Linked DNA regions of Homo sapiens: regions 1, 2 and 3 are each linked to region 4. The links are contacts of gene promoters, found by promoter capture Hi-C in blood cells and fetal thymus (Javierre and others, 2016). All regions are on one chromosome and are shown on one strand. Each heading gives the region's core, a stretch centred on a gene start or on the middle of the fragment in contact. The rest is flanking DNA. Distances are from core to core; before and after follow the strand shown.

What was found. Contacts are between HindIII fragments. The CHiCAGO score rates a contact against its expected background, and 5 or more counts as called.
Region 1: a contact is called between a fragment that was not itself captured here and the fragment with the promoter of GTF2E2 in region 4, in 1 of 17 cell types (total CD8 T cells). The highest score is 5.1, in total CD8 T cells.
Region 2: a contact is called between the fragment with the promoter of TRIM35 here and the fragment with the promoter of GTF2E2 in region 4, in 1 of 17 cell types (activated CD4 T cells). The highest score is 5.3, in activated CD4 T cells.
Region 3: the fragment with the promoter of PPP2R2A here is called in contact with the fragment with the promoter of GTF2E2 in region 4 in 2 of 17 cell types (activated CD4 T cells and total B cells); the score reaches 5.5 in activated CD4 T cells.

What each region holds. Positions count from the first base shown.
Region 1 is chr8:26,385,519-26,389,357 of GRCh38, reverse strand. All of the region lies in intron 1 of BNIP3L (BCL2 interacting protein 3 like), which reads right to left. Among named protein-coding and RNA genes, the nearest start is that of BNIP3L, 4.4 kb to the right of the region's middle. RefSeq lists a silencer at 3,511-3,805. The HindIII fragment of the contact is 1,152 bases long and covers 797-1,948 here.
Region 2 is chr8:27,309,068-27,312,902 of GRCh38, reverse strand. TRIM35 (tripartite motif containing 35) reads left to right here and starts at 1,631. Exons shown (of 6, transcript NM_171982.5): 1 at 1,631-2,102. The coding sequence starts at 1,668. It also overlaps a transcript of PTK2B not described here. RefSeq lists a silencer at 1,413-1,622 and enhancers at 1,773-1,922, 1,933-2,152, 2,553-2,662. The HindIII fragment of the contact is 14,003 bases long and covers 1-3,835 here.
Region 3 is chr8:26,289,141-26,292,976 of GRCh38, reverse strand. It overlaps PPP2R2A (protein phosphatase 2 regulatory subunit Balpha), which reads right to left and starts at 1,469. Exons shown (of 10, transcript NM_002717.4): 1 at 1,151-1,469. The coding sequence starts at 1,157. RefSeq lists a silencer at 1,318-1,667. The HindIII fragment of the contact is 3,300 bases long and covers 382-3,681 here.
Region 4 is chr8:30,656,286-30,660,205 of GRCh38, reverse strand. It overlaps GTF2E2 (general transcription factor IIE subunit 2), which reads left to right and starts at 1,970. Exons shown (of 8, transcript NM_002095.6): 1 at 1,970-2,233. RefSeq lists enhancers at 1,427-2,098, 2,770-3,441 and silencers at 1,876-2,285, 2,296-2,385. The HindIII fragment of the contact is 11,766 bases long and covers 1-3,094 here.

The DNA of each region.
Region 1 (3,839 bases), core at 123-2,622, 4.3 Mb after region 4:
AAAGCATCCCTAAATTTAGAGCTCTGCAACATATTTCAACTGGAGAGAAAGGGGGTGGGGGAGAGAATATGTATATAAAAACAGTTTTTTTTTCTGACTCTCACTGTTTCTAGGATTTTCAAACTTATTTTTAAACCAATGGGACCAGTTCTTCTTGTATAGAAGCCTAATGTGTACAATAGTAACAAACCAAAACCCAGAGCTGCTCTGACAGAAGCAGAGGTAAGGAACCAGGAGTTCCAGATAGGTCTCTGTGGAAGTCAGTCTTCCCTAAAATACAATTAATATTCACTTGAAGTAGGCAATCGAAGAGAAAAAAGGGTGTAACAAACAATATCAGGTTTTCTGGTCCTTACTTTTGTTTTTCTTTTGAGACAGTCTTGCATTGTCACCCAGGCTGTAGTACAGTGGCACAATCACAGCTCACTGCGGCCTTGATTCCTGGGCCCAAGCAATCCTCCCACCTCAGCCTCCCAAGAAGCTGGGACTACAGGGCACATGCCACCATGCCCGACTTATTTATTTATTTATTTATTTATTTATTTATTTAGTAGAGACAGGGTCTCCCTACATTGCCCAGGTTGGTCTCAAACTCCTGGGCTTCAGCAATCCTCCCACCTCAGCCTCCCAAAGTGCTGGGCTTACAGGTATGAGCCACTGCTCCCAACCTGGTTTTTACTTTTTTGAAGGACTTTCAAATCAATGTCTGGATCCTATTTTCTTCATTAAAAACACATAAGCAATCATAATCCAATATATACTTTTGGAACCTGAAAGAGACATACCTAGAAAAGCTTAGTAAAAGTGATCTCTGCTGTGGCCTCCACACCCTGAATCATAACTGAAAGCATTTCTACTTAAGGCGGACAATTTGTACTTGGGATACACTGGTATAGTGTGGTCAGGGGCTGAGACTGAAGCCAGGCTCCCACTCTCAGTTATAGCTGTTACCCTCGCACAGGGTACTTAACCTCTTTGTGCCTCAGTTTTCTCATCTATAAAATAGAGATAATAACTGTATCTACCTCGAAGACTTTGTTAGGAGGATTAAATGAATATAGCACGCAGAACAATAAGAAAGGTCCCTAAGAAAGTTTTAGCTACTACAATTATATTCTATATCATAGAAAAACCATTCCTTACTGGAAAAATGTGTTCCTAGAAAACGTAAACATCAGTACATAAAATTAAAAATTAACATCTCTCCCAACCTCCCGTTCCTACTCCCAAAGGAGCCACTTTTGACAGTTTCACATGGAGACTTGCAGAGTTTTTGTCAATGAAATATAGGTCTGTTTTTGCTTTTGTTTTTATAAAGAAATGGAACTGTACCATACACACATACTGACATATTCTGTAAGTCGTTTTTCAGATGTCTTCCCTATCAATATATACTGACATTCATTCTTTTGAACAACTGCATTGCATCTCATCTTTTATAAAGATATACCATACTTTAACCATTATCTAAATGGCAATGGTTAACTACTACTGAGATGGTTGTTTCTAATACTTTGTTATTACAATTAGGGCTTCAGTGAACATTCTGGAGAATAATTTGACAATAGGTATTAACAGCCTTAAAAGTGTAGATTTCCTTTAATTAATTAAGGGTAATTCTCTTTCAAAAATATCATCTATGGAAATACATAGTGGTACAGAGAAAGTTATGTACACAGGCATTAAGAGGCTACATATTAATCTTTTGAGTAACACATAAAAAAGCAAATGTGTCTTCCTCAATAGATGAACAACACGTCTGTTTCCCATCACCCGATTTGTTCCTGATTTACAGCCTCAGAATTTCTTAGTGTTCTAACTCTACCAATCCTCACAAAGTCCCTTTTTACTTGGAAAGGAAACAAGGCTAGATAAGAGGTTTGTGCTGTCCAAGCAACACAAAGTAGAAAACAACCACAGAGTGAATTCTCCTCCTAATGATCAAGCTTGAAAACTAAAAGCTGGAAGCTTTCTCCATTATCTAAAAGACTTTACAAACTAAGAGCTGTTCCTTATGCCAATTTGTACATAACATACAATGACATGAGATATTTTCTGGTTTGGGTTTTTGGGAATGACTAAGAGATTCAGAGAAACTTCTGTGAATGCTTCTCCGTTCTCTAACATAATAGACTGTGAAGGGTGGTCCAATAATTGTGATTATACTCATTGCCGTATGTTGTATAATCTTTACAGTTTTATAATCACTAGTTCAATCCTCTTGCAAGAAGAAGAAGAGAGGAGCTTTGGGACAAGGGGAGGAGAGAATGAAGAGTATTTCTCCTCATCTTTCCCCCTAACTTTTCAAGGCCCACATGTAACTCTTTTGAAATTTCATTATATTTACATTCTTTCCTCAAAGCTTTTCATTCATTATTGAAAGGAATCCAGACCAGGCCAACCTGATGCTGAAATCCAGACCAGGCCAACAAGAGTTACTGGCATTCTTCTTAAATAAAAAAATAAATAAATAAATTTTTGAAAAGTTGGTCTTTTTGCAGCAGTATGTATTTACATACAAGTTACGTAGGTATTCAAAACATTATTATGAGGCAGTGACAATCCATGAAGGCCTTAAGAGCACTCTTCATAACAAGAAAGCAAGGACATTGTGCTTGAAGATGTTTCTATTTAAAAAAAAGAGTTTGTGACCAGCTTGGGCAACAAAGCAAAACTCCATCTCTACAAAAAATAAGTTAGCCGGTGACCAGCCTGGGTGACAAAGTGAAACTCGAACTCTACAAGAAATAAAATAATTAGCTGGATGTGGGGGTGCACACCTGCAGTCCTAGCTACTTGGGAGGCTGAGGCAGGAGGATCACTTGAGCCCAGGAGGTCTAAGCTGCCATGAGCTATGACTGTACCACTGCACTCCAGTTTGGGTGACAAAGCAAGACCCTGTCTCAACAAAACAAAAAACAAAAAAGAACAAGAAAATTTGAAAAGAAAAAAAAGGCTATACTTCTCAACAACAAGAATTATACTACGATTTACACTACTACTTTGATTTTCCTTATTCGGCCCTATTGAATCTTATTCAAACATTCTTAAGGAAGTTGATAGTTTTCTTAACAATAAAACAAACTGGACAACATCCTTTTGACTTGGAAGGAGTTTGGGTATTTGCCCTGTAATTTTTAATGAAAGTGAACAGTCTCTCCACAGCGGTAAAGTTAAAAAAAAATCACAAAAATACTTCACTATTCAAATACTTCAGTAATTTGCTATTGAAACCCTGCTTTGACCCCTGAACCAAAGATAAAATCCCAAACGCAAGATAATCTGTACATTTCTTCTCCTGTTTTTCAGTTGTGCAACTTTACCCAACAAAGTCCTTCGACTTATCAGCAATTTGGATAGTACTAGATGCCTGAATAAGTTGTTTTGCCCATTGCCCAAAAATCACTTCAAGGAATTCAATGAGGCTTCTTGTTTTGTTCAGTACAGTGTTGTGTAATGAGCTAAAAAAACGAACAGAGTGAGAGGCAAGAAGGGAGTAATTAAATATGGCAATATCTAAAAGCTTTTCAGAAAGCTCACCCTATCCCACACAAAATACTTTCTATCTAGCAGATGTCCCAAAGCAACATTTTGATGTCCCATGCAGGCTGAGTGTACTTCCACCTCTGTAAGAGCTGATGTCAGCCAAGCAGGAACCGACTGGCCAAAGACATCAAACTCCTCATAGGTCTGTCAGACACCAAGATAAACAATGACATATGGCTCAGCCCCCGCCCTCGCCCCTTTTTTTTTTTGAGACAGAGTCTTGCTCTGTCACCCAGGCTGGAGTGCAGTGGCGTGATCTCGGCTCACTGCAACCTCTGCCTCCCGGATTCAAG
Region 2 (3,835 bases), core at 382-2,881, 3.3 Mb after region 4:
CCTTCTACCCCTAACAGGTATGGGGTAGGACCCTCTCTGGAATCGGGCTCTTATGGCCTACAGTCAAACAAGGTAGGTCAGATAATTTCTTTATGGCCAGTTATTCCACAGAAAGGCAGAGAGAAAGAGTAATATTTTAAGGTTTCAAGACTGGCTTTAGGAAAAAGGGGTTCTGGTTTCTATGACCTGCCTTGGGGAAAAGGAATTCTAATTTCTATGGCTATCCTTGGGGGACTGAGAGATAGGAGGGCAGAGAAAAATTTCTGCTTTTGAGGCCATTTTGGGGTATTGTTTTCTGAGTTTCAACACTAACAAGTTTGCATGCCAAAATTTCATGAATACTGCTAAAAGATGAAACTCCTGGGTCAGAGACAAAGGATAATACTAACAGCAATAATAGTAGTCACAGTATTGTCATTGGGCCAGTTTCTGAGCCCTAATTCTTGCAAGACTATGTGATGAAGGCTACAGTAGGTTGCATTACAGGAGAGGGGCCCCAAGTTTAGGAAACTCACATCTCTTATAATTGGGAATAAGTCTGCCAGATCTTTGGAGAGACAAGAATTCTGTCTTCCAGGGCTATTCAATGCAGAAACATCCTTGAAAAGATAGTTGGAAAAAGGCAGTCAGTGCCTCTGCTCTCTCAAGACATGCAGGAACATGACACATGTGAATTGTCTCCCAATAGAAAAGGAATGAAAGTGCATCGTGTGAAAAGTATTCTGCATCTGGAGGCTGTAAAGTGATCAAACTGAAGCAGGAATGAAGATCTGAAGGAACCATCCAGGCCTACTGTACCTGGCAAGAATTGAGCATGAACTCTAGTTATCTCAGCTAAACTTTGCAGAAGTCCTCAATTTCACTGTTTTAATGGGCACTTGCCCATTAAAACAGTGGTTGTCATGAGCACTTTCCACATTTATTTCACTTTATCCTCACACTTCATGGAAACAGAGCTATTACAGCCATTGTACTCATGAGTAAATGGACTTTGAAACATGATGACCTGTTCACTTTTTCAACCACAGGACAAGAATCAGGTTTTCTCGGAGCTCTTCTGCCGCCACCCCTCTCTTGTTTCTCCTTACCGCGGCGGGCCAGAAGAAGACTGGCCAAAATAAGTAAACGACTAATGCAAGAGTGGCATAGGTCCTCAAAAAGGCGCTGCAAACTTAAGTGGTGATTGCACTCACGGTGCTTTAAGACCCAGCCACTACTTCGGAAGCAGGAAGTTGGCATCTCTGGTTTCTCCCATCCGCGGGCCTGAGGTTCCCGGGGATTGGTTAAGGTAGAGGCTCCTTTTCCCATTTGCAGCCGGAAGTAGGTTTCCAGTAACACGGAAGCCCTACTACGCCGCCTGGGAGACCCTTCCGTGCTACCCCGGCCAGGGACCCGCCCGGACCTGAGGAGGCGGGAACTGCGGGCAGAAGGCCCACCCCGCTCTCCCAAGATTTCCCGCGCACACCGGAAGTGGGTGGGGCTCCTCCGAGCGCCCCCTCCCTCCCCCTCGCCATCCCCCCCGCACGATTGGCCAGCGCCGCTGTCTCTCAGCGTTCCAGGGGAAGGGACTGGGCGATTCCCAGCACTCGGGTCGCGGGCGTTGGCAGCCGGGCGGGTGGGAGGGGCCGGAGCAAAAGTTCCGGGCGCCCGAGCCGGCTGCTCGTGCCATGGAGCGGAGTCCCGACGTGTCCCCCGGGCCTTCCCGCTCCTTCAAGGAGGAGTTGCTCTGCGCCGTCTGCTACGACCCCTTCCGCGACGCAGTCACTCTGCGCTGCGGCCACAACTTCTGCCGCGGGTGCGTGAGCCGCTGCTGGGAGGTGCAGGTGTCGCCCACCTGCCCAGTGTGCAAAGACCGCGCGTCACCCGCCGACCTGCGCACCAACCACACCCTCAACAACCTGGTGGAGAAGCTGCTGCGCGAGGAGGCCGAGGGCGCGCGCTGGACCAGCTACCGCTTCTCGCGTGTCTGCCGCCTGCACCGCGGACAGCTCAGCCTCTTCTGCCTCGAGGACAAGGAGCTGCTGTGCTGCTCCTGCCAGGCCGACCCCCGACACCAGGGGCACCGCGTGCAGCCGGTGAAGGACACTGCCCACGACTTTCGGGTAAGAGCAGCGATTTGCACGAGGCGGCCGAGCCGGGTCTGGAACCCGGAATCCCTTGGCTCTGCGGCTCCCGCCCCTCCTGCCTGCCAGAGCCCAGTGTGCCCGCGTCTCGCTCCCAGCATGCAGGACCCCACCTCTCCGACCCAGGTTCTCAGGGCTGGCTGCTTCTTCAAGGTCGGCCCAGGGGCCCGTGCTGGGAGAAGAGAATGCGAACGGAAAGTGACAGATGAGGTTACATGATGTTCCCAAGACAGCGACACTTGCTTCTGAAGGGCCCAGGCCATGCACCCCTTGTGCCAGCCGGGTGTGGCCCAGGTCCCTTTAAGCGGCACGGATGTGGGTGCAGCCCACGAGCCCTGTAGCTTGGCACACTCAATTTAGAAGTGGAGGAGGAGCCACAGACCTGGCCAGGGGTGTGGAGTCTTAAGATTTCCCCCAAACCAGTCACCTACTTGCCAAGCTGATCCCGCGGTTTGTATTATCTGAGTGAGAGGTCTCTGACCCTGGCTGGCTGGCCTATTCTGGTTTATAAAGCAGCATCTCCATATCTAGAGTTCTAGTGACTATACATAAACCCAGGAGCAACTTACAGGGCAAAACTAACATGGAGAATTCTTTGATATAGGAAGGAAAAATGAATAGAAGATAAGGGTTAGCCTAACTCAGCATTTTCCAAAACGTTTAATCTTAGCCCATAGGAAGCAATGCATTTTCCCTTGTGACCCAGAACATATGTATCAGTTGAAACAAAAGTTTTCTGAACATGTCCATGGCACTCTGATATTTTCTGTTACTTCCCTTTGTTTTTTTTTTTTTTTGAGACCTCTATCGCCCAGGTTAGAGTGCAGTGGCGTGCTCTTAGCTCACTGCAACCTCCGCCTCCTGGGTTCAAGCGATTCTGGTGCCTCAGCCTCCCGAGTAGCTGAGATTACAGGCATGTACCAACACGCCTGGCTAATTTTTTTTTTTTTTTAATTTCTAGTAGAGGCAGGGTTTCACCATGTTGGCCAGGCTGGTCTGGAACTCCTGGCCTCAAGTGATCTGCCCTCCTCTGCCTCCCAAACTACTGGGATTACAGGCGTGAGCCACTCCGCCTGGCCTCTGTTACTTTTAAAAATTACCCAGAATGTGAAACATTGAATTTATTTCATCACCTGCTAATGCATGAGTCAGAGCCCCAATTGGGAGAACACTGGGTAGCTGGCCCGAAGCTGCATGGACTGGAGAGGAGGAGCTGCCCGAGTCCCCTGTGCCTGGTTTCTGGCCCCCTCTGTGGCCCTGCCTTCTTTTTTTGCAATACCTTTTTAAATACGGAAGTCTGTTCCGCTCCAAATGCATTTGACAAAGTTTAATTGAAGGGGAATGTAAGGATGCTGTCAGTACGCATGTCTCAATGAGTAACCCTGTTACTCCTGTCATCTTTTTTGTTTAACATGGGTCCATGTCAATGCTTTTCCTGTTTCCACTGGCAGAAGTGACAGATCCTGATTTGGGACAGCTGGAATAAGTGCTGGCCAGCCAGGGGTCTGGGGCCCAGGTAAAGGAGGGATCATGGTTCAGGTCATGACTGATGCCTATTTGGCTGGCCGAGGTGCTGATCAGGAGATGCTGGGGTCAGGGCTGAGAACACCCAGGCAGAGCCCCCAGGCTGGGGCCAAGCCAGGATTCAAGAGCAGAGAGCCATGCACCAGCAGATGCCTGGTACTGCAAGGTCCCAGGGATACTGCAGGAGA
Region 3 (3,836 bases), core at 220-2,719, 4.4 Mb after region 4:
TTTTCAACAAGGCCAACAAGCAACTTGTTTATAGCAAACCGTAAGTCAATCCGACATGTTAACTTTTTCAAAAGGTTTAATTATCTAAATAATGAATACAGCACGGAAAACTGGTCTCATCTCGGAATGTTTCTATTTCACGTGCAAGTACTGAGGTCGAAATGATTGAAAATGTCCTGGGGCTCTAGGGAGAAAGAAACTGAATCTAAATCTGCAACTGATTCTACTACATGAAGGAAAAGATTTAGCAATACCAACATGTACAAAAAGAATTCTCAAAGCAATTACATTACTTCTCTCTCCCCCATCACCCCTATTCCTTGCTAAATTTATTTCCAAACTGGTTTTCTCTCTACATCCTTTCCCCTCCCCTTCAAAGCTTCTACCTAAATCTCTCTCCTCCTTGCTATTTATATCTCTGAACTCCGCAACTATTTTAACTAACTCTACCAAACCCTTTTGGGAAAAGGACATCTGCAAAAAAGCTAACATGCTAAACGCAAAGTTTAAATTATTTTCATGCAACTTGCTGTACATGAAAGGCCTTGCACTCTTCGGCGGTAAAAGGGAAGAAACGGAAACGAAATGGTTCGAAACAAAAAATTTAGGCTTCCAGTCTCAAAAATATTGGCATCTACAGTGGGGAAAAAATACACATATGCCCCCACTGTATTTTAACTTATAAGGCGCTCTTCCTTCTCGAGGCAAAATAAATGTGTATATACACCCAAGAAGGCTTGCAGCAGGGGGAAAAATAGAAATTAAATGAAGACCTGCAGGAAAAAAAAATAAAGGCGGGGGGCAAGGTGGGGAGGTGGGAGAAGATCCACCAGGCTCCCGAGCGGGAGGGACAAATCTGCACGCACCCCCACCCCGCCCCACCCACGCCTCACCCCAAGCTCGCCGGCACACCCCACCCCCACCCCCGCCACGGCGCCAGCCCCGTTCTCCAAGCCCAGTGACTCTCACCGTGACCACTTGCCTCCCGGGAGCCCTCCCCGCCCCCACCCCACCCCTCTGGACCCTACTCCCTCAAACCCGAGGGGCGCCCTGTGGCTCTGCGCGAGGCGCGGGCGGTCGCTAGGGGGTGATGGAGGGAGGAATAAGGAAGCGGTGCCTTGTCAGGGGGCGAGGGGGATTTCTCCTTTACCTGCCATGTTGCGCTGCAAATGGTGACCCTGCTGGGTTCCTCGGGGTCTCCGCTTCCTGAACTCACCCCCCTCACCTGGGGATGGGGGGGTAGAGAGGGCGGATGGCGGCGGATGGCACCTGCGGGGGGAGGGGACGGGGGCCGGGGGGAAAAGGAAGGAGGGGCGGGCAGACCAGCCGGCAGGATGCTAGATTTCACTCTGGGGCTTCCCCGCTCGTGCTCTTTCTCCGGCAGCGGCGGCGGCGACTACGACAGCGACGGCGGCGGCGGCAGCGGCAGGGGCAGGCGACTCCACTTTCAAAATGGCGCCGGCTGGCCTGGCCAGTGACGTCACCTAGGGGGCGGAGCCGCCGGGCTGGGGCGGAGAGCGGAGGGGGAGGGGCGGGGGAGCGGCCGGGCGGCTCTTGGCCACGCCCCCTTCCTGCTGCGCCTGTGCCCCGCCCTCCGTGTCCCGGCCGGCAGGGCCTGCGCCGCGCCAGCGTCTCGCCATGGCATACCCTCTGTCCGCACCGCCTGCGCCAGGCCGCGGCTGTGTGCACCTAGCAGTGTCCCAGCCTCGAGCACTAGCGCCGGGGCTCTGGGGCGGGCTTAGGAGTCCAGTTTACGTGCTCTCCTGCAAGGATTCATGGGGTCCTATGTCTTCTAGGAATACCTGGGCCGGGCACGGTGGCTCATGCCTGTAATCCCAGCACTTTGGGAGGCTGAGGCGGGCGGATCACAAGGTCAGGAGTTCGAGACCAGCCTGGCCAACATGGTGAAACCCCGTCTCTACTTAAAAATATACAAAAATTAGCCAGGCGTGGTGGTGTGCGCCTGTAATCCTAGCTACTTGGGAGGCTGAGGTGTGAGAATTGCTTGAACCCGGGAGGCAGAGGTTGCAGTGAGCCGAGATCGCACCACTGCACTCCAGCCTGGGTGACAGAGCAAGACTCCGTCTCAAAAACAAAAAACAAACAAACAAAAAACCCCGTACTGCTTCTTAGGAAATTGTCACTTTGGATTAGCCCTGAGACCACAAAGAAAGGGACAGCGGTGCAGACTTACTGCTCAGCCGGGGTGAAAGTTCACGGGGTTCAGAGGGACACGATTGGGCTGGTTCTATCTGGGTGAATTAAATTACCTTCTCGTGGGCCCCAGGATCCAAGGCGGGAGTCCTAGGCACTGCGGACACTAAGAGTGATTTCTAAGAGAAACCTGAGTTTGTGATGAGAGGGTATGGCCCAAGAAGTGACCCGGCGTCTCTCCAGCTAAACGTGTTGGACTGCGTGCTTAAGAGCTGGGCTCAGGGCCGGGCGCGGTGGCTCACGCCTGTAGTCCCAGCACTTTGGGAAGCCGAGGTGGGAGGATCGCTTGAGGCCAGGAGTTCCGAGTTCGGCCTGGAGAACATAGGGAGACCCATCTCTCCAAAAAAAATTTTTTTTTTTAAATTAGCCAGGTATGATGGCGTGCCTATAGTCCCAGCTACTAGAAGGCTGCAGTAGGAGGACTGCTTGAGCCCAGTAGGTCAAGGCTGCAGTGAGCTATGTGATCACATCACTGCACTCCAGCCTGGGAGACAGAATGCGATCCTGTCAAAACAAAAACAAAAACACAAAAAGTGCTGGGCTCTGAAGCCAGGCTGCCTAATATGATTCCAAGGCTCAGGAGATGAAGATGACAGTCCTACCTGATAGGATTGTTGGGGAGATGAAATGACTTAATTTGAGCACATGATAAATGTTAGCTGCCGTTATTATTAGATTTGTATTGAAAGCATCGTCAGTAAGGTTAAGAGGTAGAAGGAAAAAAATGAACAGGAAATGCCAGTCATCAGCTATGAGGGGATGTGCACTTCTGTTGAAAGATGCTCTAATGATGCAGTTGCTATATACAGCACACTTTACATATCCCATTCCATCTCCACGATACTCCTAGGAGATAGATATGCACATTTTACACGTGAAAAACACCTGTAAAAGCATCCAGAATTTGGCCTAAGGCTGAATGGAGTGATAAAGGCGTTTGGAAACCAAGAAGGGGGAGTTAAAGATATTTACACGTCCTCCCCACCATCTCCACTTTCTACCATATTTTTGATTTCCAGGACAGTTGAACTGTAATGCAACGTTCAAAATTCCTTCAAAGGAACAACTGCACCACTGCATGATCATTCCTCTGTTTCTGCATGAATATTTCCCACGTTACCAATGAATTAATCAAAACTAAAAATCCACCCTCTATGTGTCATCTTTTGGCTACCTGTACAACAGGTACAAAACTTCAGTGCACTGCGTGCTGTATTTTCTTCAATGCTGGTGTTTTTCATAAATGTATTTCTCTGGGTATGCCTTCATTTATTTTCCTTTTTGCTTGCTCTGCCCTTCTTTGGTGGTTCAATCCCAGACTCTCCAGGGAGAGCTCTCCATCTTAACCAGAACCCAGAAGGAAGGAGAGAGAGAGAAAGGAAGACAGAAAAAGAGAATATAGACTTTACATACCCTGAAAATGATTTGGTTTACATAAATGATTTGTTCTTAGAAGCCAATAAAGCTTGCCTAGAAACTGGGATAATTATAACAAAAATGTATATAGCACCGACTTTGTGCCAGGTGCTGTTTTAAGAACATTATTTGGAGCCTTGGGGGTACTGCATGCCTGTGGAATGGGCTGACTTGGGTCTGATAATCAAGGGCCAGTGCACCCTGGC
Region 4 (3,920 bases), core at 721-3,220:
GAGAACAGAGACTATTCAGAGCTTGCTATAGCAATAGGGGCAGCGACCACACTTGAGTTTGGCAGAGACTCAAAAGCAATCGGGAAGAGGGGAGACTTTACAGTGGAGGAAAAAAGGGATGCTTCTGATGTGTTCTGATTTAGGGATGTTGGCAGGGGAAGCTGGAAGTTGTCTAACTTGAAGCAGGAAACTTAACAGGATTGGTTTGGGAAGAATATTTGGCTTTCTCTGGCTGATACTGGTGTCTGAGGACAGAGAGGTTAAAATAGAAAAGTTGGCAGCCTTCTTGAGAAAATTCTGACCATTTTGAGCTGATTGCTGTAGAGGTTATGGTTTGGCTTATGTGAGTTAGAGTGTTATTATCATATGCGGTTTAGCCATTGTCCATATGTATAAGTCTCTCACTCATTAATAAGGGAGCCAGCAGAATCATAAAACGGATTTCTACCAGTTCTGAAAAATGATATTTATATAATCGTTGGGGAAAGGAATGCTGAAATAAAACTGCTCAGTTGATACAAAACCGGTTAATTTTTCTCAGAAAAATGCAACCTTAACCTTTGGAATTTTATCTATCTATCTATCTATCTATCTATCTATCTATCTATCTATCTATCTATATACACACTGAATTCCCTGCCCCTTTTTCCCCTAACACCTCATCAGTTTCCTACCAATTGATGTTTGATTTCATCCTTTTGTAAATCTTCTGGGCCCTAATCAATTGTTATTCAAACAAAGTTACATTTCCTGTGGGTGTCAGATGATCAAGTAGGCTTATTACAAAATTCTCTAGAATGAAACTAATAAAAGTCACAAAATATTATCTTTTGACTTTTTTCCAAGTTTTGAATAAAATTTTAGGTATTTTCTCACTTAATTTTCACCACAGTCCAATGCAAGTAACTCATTGTAGTAGTACAATGATTATCCCCATTTCCCCGATGAGAAAACTGAGCCACAGTTTCAGTAACTTGAAGAGTAACCAGTAATTCAACGACAGCCACAGAATGGCTGAGCACTGGCTGTACTGCCGCTTTAGGTTATAAGAGTGAGGGAAGGCCTGCCACGCTGCAGGTTTCGGGCAATGAAATTATTTTTTCCACTGCTTTATTTCCACCCATTTATCTGGCTTCTAAATCCAAAATCCTTTTCTAAGACAGTTCACAGGGGTGGAGGGAAGAGGCTGGGCTGTGCTCCACATCAGGCTGCCTTTGCTAGCTGTGTTGTCTTGAGCAAGTCATTTATTAATTAGCTTCCTGGCCCTCTGTTCTTCGCTTGTAAAAGAGCTGGAACCGCGTTCTCGGTGTGCAGGTGCTGGTGTGTGGCGCTGGGGTAAACTCACAAAATAACCGTTGAGGCCGGGCGCGGTGGCTCACGCCTGTAATCCCAGCACTTTGGGAAGACGAGGCGGGCAAATCGCTTGAATTCAGGAGTTCGAGACCAGCCTGGGCAACATTGTGAGACCCTATTAATACAAACAACAACAACAATAATAACCAAAAATAGTCCGTCGTGGTGGCACTCGCCTGTGATCCCAGCTACTCCGGAGGCTGAGGTGGGAGAATGGCTTGAGCCCAGGAGCGGAGGTTGCAGTGAGCCGAGATCGCGCCACTGCCCTCCAGCCTGGGTGACCGAGTGAGATCACGTCTCTAATAAGAAAAAGACAAAAAACACAAAGTAACCATTGAAAGATAGCGTCGTCGGCTGGGTTCACCACATCCCAGCGCACGCCGGAGCAGGCTGTAGCAGTTTTAATAAAGTGTCTATAAAGAAAGCTGCCTTCCATCTTCAGTGGCGCCGCCTCCCACTTCAGTCCCCTTCTCGGCCCCACCCCAGCCCTTCCCTCGTTGTCATGGAGGCCCCAGGACGCCAGAGCGGGATAGTTCCGCTCCCGCGGCACCAGAGGCGGGGCACGCAATGACGCATGCGCTCGCTTGGCTGCCCTGGCGCCGCGGTGGCTGCCGGGACTGAGCTCCTAGCACCCGATCGGGAAGTGGCGGGCGGAGTCCCGGGTCCAGTCGCCGCCTCAGCTACCGCCGCTGCCGCCGCCGCCGCCGCCACCGCCAGTGGTGAGACCCCGACCTGGCGGGTCAGCGCTGGGCGTGCGTGCGGGCAGGCGGGGGCGCTGACGAGAAGCAGGAAGAGGGTGCAGTGCCGGCGTGGGCGGCCGGCCGAGGCGGAGGCGCAGGAAGGGGGCGGCGAGTCGTGCGAGGCTGCCCTTCTCACTCAGGTAGGGGCTGCGGCCGCCGGGTGTGGGGCGCAGAGCCCCGGCTTGCTGTTCCCTGGGACGCAGGCGCGCCGCCGCCTCCCGGGAGGCTGAGCGTGACCTCCACCTCACGGGAAGCTGGGACCGCCGTTCTCGAAGCGAAACACCCAGCACGCGAACCGTTCCCCGGAGCATTGTCTTTAGGCCAGAGGTTCATTGAGCAAACTTTTGGGTTGGAAAGAGGGAAAATTCGCGGTCTGCCGCCTGACTGTGCCTCTTCCAAGCCTCCAAGTTCACGGGCGCGGTAGCCAAGCGAACCGTGTGTGGAGTTTGAGCAGCCGCGGGGTCCAGCCAGCTCAAGACTGTGATTTAAAATGATGCTCATACGCGGACTGCTTTCTAGGCTACCTTTTGGAGATTTGGTTTGTGATGATCCCTAAACTTTAACGATAGTAGTTGATTTCTGCAGTCTAAACAACGCTGCGGCCCCCTTTTCGCCCACCTCCCCACTTCCGTCATTTAAGGGCGAAGCAGCCTGCTTTTCATAGCCGGGTCCTGAGGTGCCAGGGACACTAACGAGGCTGGGTAAAAGTGAAAGAGAGGGGAAGTAGTAAGGTTGAAAGAGGTCGAATGGTGGCAAGAATCGTGGGCTTGGAGGCAGATTTCAGTTTAATTTTTGGGTTTTCCGTGTCTGCCCACGGAGGAACCAGCCAACTCCTTGAGTTGTGGTTTTGTTTAATTGTAAAATGGACATGGTGATGTAGCCTGTTTACTCCATAGGGGGGTCCAGAGATCTAAAACTTAGTACACATATTGGGTAGTCTTTGAAAAAGGAGGAAAAGTTAGGCGGAGCACGTGATGGTGAAAGACAGACATTGCGAAGCTTTCTGCTCTAGATGCCTTTGAACGTTCCCGAACCTCACAGGTGGCCTTTGTTTTAAAGGCCTTTACCAGCGTTCCAGGTCTGGTGTAAGGAGCACTTGAGTTAGGAGTCAGGAGGTTTGGTTCCTGGCCCTGGCTCTTCCATCTGTGCGACCTTAACCAGACAGCTTCACTTCAGATTTCACGTATTAAAATAGGAATAACACTAATACCTGTTTGCTCCTAGAGTTGCGAGGGTCAAATACTGTAAGCATTTAGTTTGTTGTAAACTGTACGGCTTTATTTACTTTTTTTTTTTTTTTTTTCTGAGACGGAGTCTCGCACTGTCGCCCGGGCTGGAGTGCAGTGGCGCGATCTTGGCTTACTGCAAGCTCCACGTCCCTGGTTCAAGCGATTCTCCTGCCTCAGCCTCCCAAGTAGTTGGGATTACAGGCACCCGCAACGACACCCTGCACATTTTTTAAATTTTTAATGGAGACGGAGTTTCACCATGTTGGCCAGACTCGTCTAGAACTCCTGACCTCGTGATCCGCCCTCCTCGGCCTCCCAAAGTGCTGGGATTACAGGCGTGAGCCGCTGCGCCCGGCCTATTTAAATCTTTTAGAGTAATTTTTTTAAAGTCCAGATTGAGGTCCTGCCTTTGCAACGTGAAATAAGACACAAATGTTTCCTGTTCTAGAAATTTACTTTTTGCTCCCACCTTCTCACTTGACAATTCTCCTTTCTTCTTCTTGGCCCCACGCTTTCCCTCCTCCCAAGGCTGTCTCCTACTTTCCTCAGCCCGGTAAATCATTCCCTTCTTTCAGATCCAACTCAAAATAGTAATACT